2 separate regions of the Homo sapiens genome follow, and region 2 is linked to region 1. The links are contacts of gene promoters, found by promoter capture Hi-C in blood cells and fetal thymus (Javierre and others, 2016). All regions are on one chromosome and are shown on one strand. Each heading gives the region's core, a stretch centred on a gene start or on the middle of the fragment in contact. The rest is flanking DNA. Distances are from core to core; before and after follow the strand shown. Region 1 holds the start of RPS20 (ribosomal protein S20). Region 2 overlaps TGS1 (trimethylguanosine synthase 1).

Region 1 (3,560 bases), core at 593-3,092:
CTGCCTCTGCCACTTAATCCTTTTTTAAGGACGTTAAACTTGGTTAATTTAAAAATATTAGTTACTAGCTTTTTAACACGTGCCTACTAGCGCACTAGGTTCTCAACCATGGGTGTGCATTACAAACGCCCCAGAAACCTTAACACCCCATACCAATCAGAATTTATCTAGAGTATGCCAAAGTTATAAACTGCCAGTGTCCAATAAAACCAGTCAGGTCTCACATATTATGTAGTTAACGGAATCCAGTTTTCAAATGACTCAAACGACAACGAAAACAGGATAGACCACTCTAAGATACCCATATATTCCACCTGAAAAGTGGAAGTCTCATAGTACACCTTTATATTCCTAAAATCTGCCAGTATTCTGAATAAAAACCAACAGAAGTTAACAACTGGTCATCAATTTATTAAAATAGTTGACTTAAGCATCTGCAATGGTGACTTCCACCTCAACTCCTGGCTCAATACTGATGGAAGTAATCTGCTTAACAATCTCAGAAGGACTGTGCAAGTCAATGAGTCGCTTGTGAATTCTCATCTGGAAACGATCCCACGTCTTAGAACCTTCACCACAAGGAGTTTTTCTTGTAGTGATTCTCAAAGTCTGTAACAAAAGACAAAGGAAACCAAGTGTTTATCGTTTTATACTTATCCCTAGAACATCTGGAAAATCATTACTTCTAATCATTTCATTAGTTTCCCTTTGGTATGATTCCAATTTACACTAATAGATTTTCAGGTACCATGGGTTGAAAATGCCAGGTCTGTTTTCACTGTGCTAGGACACCACCCTTAGAGCTTGCGCCTGTTAAGCACCAAAGCACACCAAGAACACAGCAACAATAATTCAACAATCATATCTAAACATTAGCTACTTACTAGGAACCGCAATCTACCACCGATTTCTATGTGCGTTTGTAGACAGCATCAGTGTTAACAATTTTGGCAGCCGAACTCCTTAAAGAACCTGAATTTATGCAACATCCGGAAGCAACTCCTACTTCCTGCCCCTCCGATTTACTTTACCTTGGTAGGCATTCGAACTGGTCCTTTCACTTTGAGATTCTTTTCTTTTGCGCCTCTTATCAAGTCAGCACACACTACAGGAAATAAAAGACCTCTCAGTATAATCGAAACAATTAAAATCGGCTTAAGGCCTTCACTTCTGCTGGCTCAGAATAGCGTATAAAATTATCACCGTTACTCAACACAATAGGTACCTCCTCATCGCCAGCTGTATGACAGTAAAAGCAATTTTAAGCCACGCTTTACTTTTTTAAGTAACTTGTCACTTTAGTTCTTGCAGTCCACCTTCTACACTAACATTAACGAGTAAAGCTCGTCGCTTTTCGCCCAATTCCCCCTCCCCCCCGCATAACGAATGCACTGACCCTTTTCCAAGGATTTTACGTTGCGGCTTGTTAGGGTGATTCGAATTCGGTGAATTGCCACCTCCGGCTCCACGGGTGTTTTTCCGGTATCCTTAAAAGCCTATTATTAGATACATGAAAAAGAACAATAAGCCAAAAATGGTCTGCCACTTCTGGAGAAAGGCAGCTTCCGGAAGCTTCCCGCGTTTCCCCACCATTTCAGGAGCGCCTTTCCGCCCCTACACGCCCCGGCATCTGCCCTCAGGAGCACGAACTCGAAACCGGGGTCCCCCCGGCGCCCGAGCCCTGCGTTGCGCCGCCCGCCGCCGACTGCCGCCTCACCATGGCTGTTGCGCGCGGGCTTCCTGACCGACTTGTTCCTCGGCGAGAGCGAACAGCGGTGAGTCAGGAGCAGGAGCGTGCGGACCAAAAATCCTCAGCCCTTACGACCGCGTCTTCCTCAAAAAGAAAGGGGTGGGACTTGAGCAACGCTTATATAGCACGCTTGCATCCGGGTCCCACACGCCCCGGAACAGGAAATATCCCGGGCCCTAGAGGCGGTCGCACAAGGGCGAGCTGGAGCACTAGTGGAGTTGGCGGGAAAGGCACGGCTGCGGGCGCCCCCTGTCCGCACGGAGGAGCCGAAGTCCCGCAGGGTGGGGTCCCCGCCTGCGCCGAGAGGGCCACCTGGTCGAGAGAACAGGCGACACGGAAACCTGAGAAACTCCTCTGTCTGGTGCACCTAACCCTCTTCCTCATAAAGTGCACACGAACTCTGGTTTTTCCGTTGCAAATTTTGCTTTCTACATAGACCATACCATTCGTTGCTCTCTGAGGATGAGGTAACTTCTCTGAGCTTAGCTGACATGAGCATTGGCAGAAATGCTTCTCGTAATCTGGATAACTTACGTTAGAATTAGTAAGCAGTTATTTTTCATAGCCTGAAACGTCCTGTTGTGATATTTCAGCTCCTGGCTTCCCAGTCCAGCAGAAGTATCTACATCTATTTCTGGAAAGGACCTGAACTTGGCTTCTCGTCCTTCTGGAAAGTGAGGCGAAAATGCCAGGCTGCGCAGCTATCCTGAGGCCCGGCCTGGAACCTGGCTAGCCACCCAGTCCTGATACCTCATCTCCTTTCTGTTGGATAAAGTCATTGGATAAGATCCCCCAGGGTCTTCTTAATACTGAACATCTGTTCATAATCACATAAGTGACCAAGTATAGTGGAAAACCCGAATGGTCAACTGAGCTGAGCAGTGGGAGAGAGCGCAGGGTGAGCTCACCTACACCTGAGCAAGAAGCCGGGGCTAAATACGTGGAAATCACTGAGATGGATTTTGATACAGGGCAGAAAGAAGAGTAAAATCATCTCATATTACTTTCCACCTGAAGCTCTGAGCCGAAAGAGTTATTTGCTCAAACACTCTGAAATGGGGAGGGACAGAGCTCTGACCCCTCCGTCCAGGCCTGTTTGTTGTTTTTTTTTTTTGTTTGTTTTGTTTTTTTTTTTTTGTGAGACGGAGTTTCATTCTTGTTGCCCAGGCTGGAGTGCCATGGCGCGATCTCGGCTCACCGCAAACTCCGCCTCCTGGGTTCAAGCGATTCTCCTGCCTCAGCCTCCGGAGTAGCTGGGATTACAGGCATGCGCCACCATGCCCGGCTAATTTTTTTTTTTTTTTTTTTTTTTTTAGTAGAGACGGGGTTTCTCCATGTTGATCATGCTGGTCTCAAACTCCAGATCTCAGGCCCGCCTCGGCCTCCCAAAGTGCTGGGATTACAGGCGTGAGCCACCGCGCTCGCCCCGTCAGGACTCTTTCTTGAGGTTTTGTCTTCTGTTCCTTGGTAGGAAATTATGTTTGAAACTTTAATCAAATAATAGCATTGTCTTATTTGGTGATAATTGGAACATAACTAATAACTGGGTTTCTTTGGCTCACGATACGTATGAGGTTTTTTGCTGCCATTTTAACAATTATTTTAAATTTTCAAATTTGGATGTTTTCCAGTTCAGTTTTTTGGGTTTTTTGTTTGTTTGTTTTTTGAGATGGAGTCTCGCTCTGTCGCCGAGGCTGGATGCAGTGGCACGATTTTGGCTCCCCGCAACCTCCACCTCCTGGGTTCAAGCAATTCTCCTGCCTCAGCCTCCCGAGTAGCTGGGACCACAGGCACGTGGCACCACTCTCAG
Region 2 (3,560 bases), core at 506-3,005, 280 kb before region 1:
AAGGTTTTTAAATTCCTGGCAGGATGTATTACTATGCACATGTAATTTTATTGAGGAATCCTTGGGTAGATTTTGATAGTATACACTTGTAGAAATCTATTTCTTTTCTTGCCTGAGACTTAACTACTTAACTACTCTTCTATTTAGAGCACCCAATTCTACTTAAAAGAGAAGGATAAAATATCCTGTTTATTAAAAGAAGTTTATAATATGGCTACAAAGTGAGACCTGATATTTAAACCCAGACTATTCTGGATTTTATAAATGCTAAAGTGTACGTGACACTCTTAAGTCCCTAACAGTTTGTCGGAGAGGGAGTTAATTGAGGCTTAATATAATCAAAGGAGGCTTCATAGCAGATACATATCTTTTAGGACTGGAAAATTTCAGATGGTTAAATCAGGCATTCTCTAATTATTTTGATACGAAGGGTTCGCTTCTTTTGTAAGCTCAGATTGATTTAGATAATTCAAATGTATCCAGAAATGTGTTAAAGAGCTTTGACATCACCCCACCTTGAAAATATTTATATATTTATATTTCCCTAACAAGGGGATAGGGTTTTCGTTTGTTTGTTTGTTTGTTTTACTATTTATTTATTGCAGTCTACTATGTAATTTCTACTTTCTCCTCTATATTAGGTATGTTGCACTTCCCAACTTTGGTGTTACACATTTGCTTTAGAATTAACATGAAAGTTAGACCATCAACTCTTCTGCAAGTTGAACTTGATTTTATCATTTTCATAATTTTAAAAAGGGAATTAAAATGGTGTAAAAATGAGTGAAAATGTTAGTTTCATCCTCTTTTCCTATAAGGAAATATAATCCTAGAATTTAAGTTGTGAATAACTTCTTTTGATCTGTCACAGATATGGTGGAATCCCAAATTTCAGTCATCGGCAGGTCAGGTATTTAGAGAAGAATGTGAAGCTTAAGTCTAAGTACCTAGACATGCGCAGACAAATAAAGATGAAAAACAAACACATCTTCTTTACCAAAGAGTCAGAAAAACCATTTTTCAAGAAAAGCAAAATTCTGAGTAAGGTATGTATAAATTTTGTTGCATATTTGTAGATAGAATCATGTTTTGTAAGTTTGACCTCTTAAAATTGTTGTATTCAAATAGGAAGCTTGTTTCTACCAGGTATCAAGGTACATAATTTTTTTTTTTTTTACTTGCTTCTTGAAGGCATATATTATGTAAACTAAATCTGAAAAAAGGCAAGTTGAGGTAGGGTGAAAAGGAAGTGTTTGAAAGCTACAAAGTACTAGTGTCTGAGATTATTTAAAAAACGCAGCCGTCAGGCGTGGTGGCTCACACCTGTAATCCCAGCAATTTGGGAGGCTGAGGCAGGTGGATCACCTGAGGTCGGGAGTACCAGACAAACCTGACCAACATGGAAAACCCTGTCTCTACTAAAAATACAAAATTAGCTGAGCATGGTGGCGCTTGCCTGAAATCCCAGCTACTTGGGAAGCTGAGGCAGGAGAATCGCCTGAACCCGGGAGGCGAAGGTTGCAGTGAGCCGAGATCGCGCCTTTTCACTTCAACTTGGGCAACAAGAGCAAAACTCCATCTCAAAAAAAAACACGCAACCTTGGCCGGGCATGGTGGCTTACACCTGTAATCCCAGCACTTAGGGAGGCTGAGGCGGATGGATCACCTGAGGTCAGGAGTTCGAGACCAGCCTGGCCAACATGGTGAAACCCCATCTCTACTAAAAATATAAAAATTAGCCAGGCATGATGGCGGGTGCCTGTAATCCCAGCTACTCGGGAGGCTGAGGCAGGAGAATTGCTTGAAATTTGGGAGTGGAGGTTGCAGTGAGCTGAGATTGTGCCATTGCACTCTAGGCTGGGAGACAGAGTAAGACTGTCTCAAAAAAAAAACACAACCTTGCCTATGTAGTAACAGACAAGAACAAGGAACAATTTCTCATCTGTTTTAGGCTAGGTAGGTGTATTAGTCTGTTTTCGGGCTGCTAATAAAGACATACCCAAGACTGGATAATTTTTGAAGGAAAGAGGTTTAATTGACTCACAGTTCTGCAGGGCTGGGGAGGCCTCAGAAAACTTAAAATTATGGTGGAAAGGGAAGCAAACAACTCCTTCTTCACATGGCAGCTAGAGAGAGAAATGAGTGCCCAGCAAAGGGGGAAGCACCTTATAAAACCATCAGATCTCATAAGAACTAACTCACCATCACAAGAAGAGAGTGGGAGAAACTGCCCCCATGATTCAACTATCTTTACCTGATTCCTCCCACAACACGTGGGGATTATGGGAACTATGATTCAAGATAAGATTTGGGTGGGGACACAGCCAAACCATACCAGTAGGATCCTAATAGTCCAAATTCTGATACAGCTTTATATTATAAGCTTTAATTCTGAGTTCTTCCAGAAGTGATCAGTCACAGTTTACACCTTGTAACAAGTTCACCCTGATAGCATGAAACACAGGCCAATTTATTGATTCACATTATTACCTGAAATATTCATATATTGGACTTTGCTATACCTGCCATCCAAGTACCTGGGAAACAAAAGTAGTTAGAAAATTGCTTGGTGTGATGAATTACCTTTCTATATTCTAAGGGGTAAAAAACACTTTCTAATGAGCAGAACCTTCATGTCAATCACATCTCCAGCAGCTCTTCAGGACAGTAGACCATAATCTTAGACTCCATGATGTCTCTGTCTCTGTTGTTCGTTTTTTAAGGCTAGTCAGATGACTCTTTTTCCCCTCAATACAGTGTCCTCCCTAACTTCAGCATACTTGTAAAATATGCTACATATATATAGCTGGTTTTATTTTGTATTACATTTCAGGTTGGTTGGCTGCTGGTGATGTTTTAATAAATATGTTCGTGGTGCTAGTTATATCTGAAACAGACTGCCTAGTATTAGTCCAGTCAGTGCCATAGGACTTTCCGTAATGTGTTGGATATAATAGCCCCTATGCATTCATCTATAGATGAGTGCAGAAACAGCTACTAAGCATTGCTGAGGAAAAAAGATATGTAACTGTTGTGTCTAACTTAGATACCTAATTTATTTATAGGCACATTTCTTTAGAGGAAGATTCTGGGTTGTTGCCCATCATGTCTACCACTTCATTCTAATTTACTCACTCTCAGGAAGGTCATGAAGACAAGATAGGAAGAATATTCTTGTTACAGAAGATGCAAAGAAGTATATGATCTGATGCTGAGCCTTGTTTACATTCCAAAGAACAAACATTTGCTGGGACATATCTTACTGGCTCTACTGTTGCATTAAAAGGCAACTTTGATTTTTTTCCAAGGTAGACTGCTTCTATTCTTACAGAAGAATTGGCCCTAAATCTTTTTAGGGTTCGTCTTTGATGCTAAGTAACATTTACATAGATTGTAGCTTGACCATTGCAGAAAGGTCTATATAATTTGAAAAACTAAAATTAATGATTCAGTAGTAAGTAGGTACATTTGTAATGTAGCTGTAGCACAGTTAAATTGTTAAGAACCCTTATGGAAAAGCCACTGGGACAGTTTGGCTTTATCCTCTTAGTATTTATTGA

Evidence for each region. Contacts are between HindIII fragments. The CHiCAGO score rates a contact against its expected background, and 5 or more counts as called.
Region 2: a contact is called between a fragment that was not itself captured here and the fragment with the promoter of RPS20 in region 1, in 1 of 17 cell types (total B cells). The highest score is 6.5, in total B cells.

Annotation. Positions count from the first base shown.
Region 1 is chr8:56,072,664-56,076,223 of GRCh38, forward strand. It overlaps RPS20 (ribosomal protein S20), which reads right to left and starts at 1,843. Exons shown (of 4, transcript NM_001023.4): 1 at 1,718-1,843; 2 at 1,397-1,496; 3 at 1,032-1,105; 4 at 391-609. The coding sequence starts at 1,720. The coding sequence ends at 427. It overlaps SNORD54 (small nucleolar RNA, C/D box 54), which reads right to left and starts at 1,238; the gene lies at 1,176-1,238. CERNA3 (competing endogenous lncRNA 3 for miR-645) reads left to right here and starts at 1,929. Exons shown (of 2, transcript NR_149110.1): 1 at 1,929-2,217; 2 at 2,344-2,611. The HindIII fragment of the contact is 15,741 bases long and covers 1,571-3,560 here.
Region 2 is chr8:55,795,107-55,798,666 of GRCh38, forward strand. TGS1 (trimethylguanosine synthase 1) reads left to right here. Exons shown (of 13, transcript NM_024831.8): 7 at 872-1,046. Among named protein-coding and RNA genes, the nearest start is that of TGS1, 23 kb to the left of the region's middle. The HindIII fragment of the contact is 1,251 bases long and covers 1,131-2,381 here.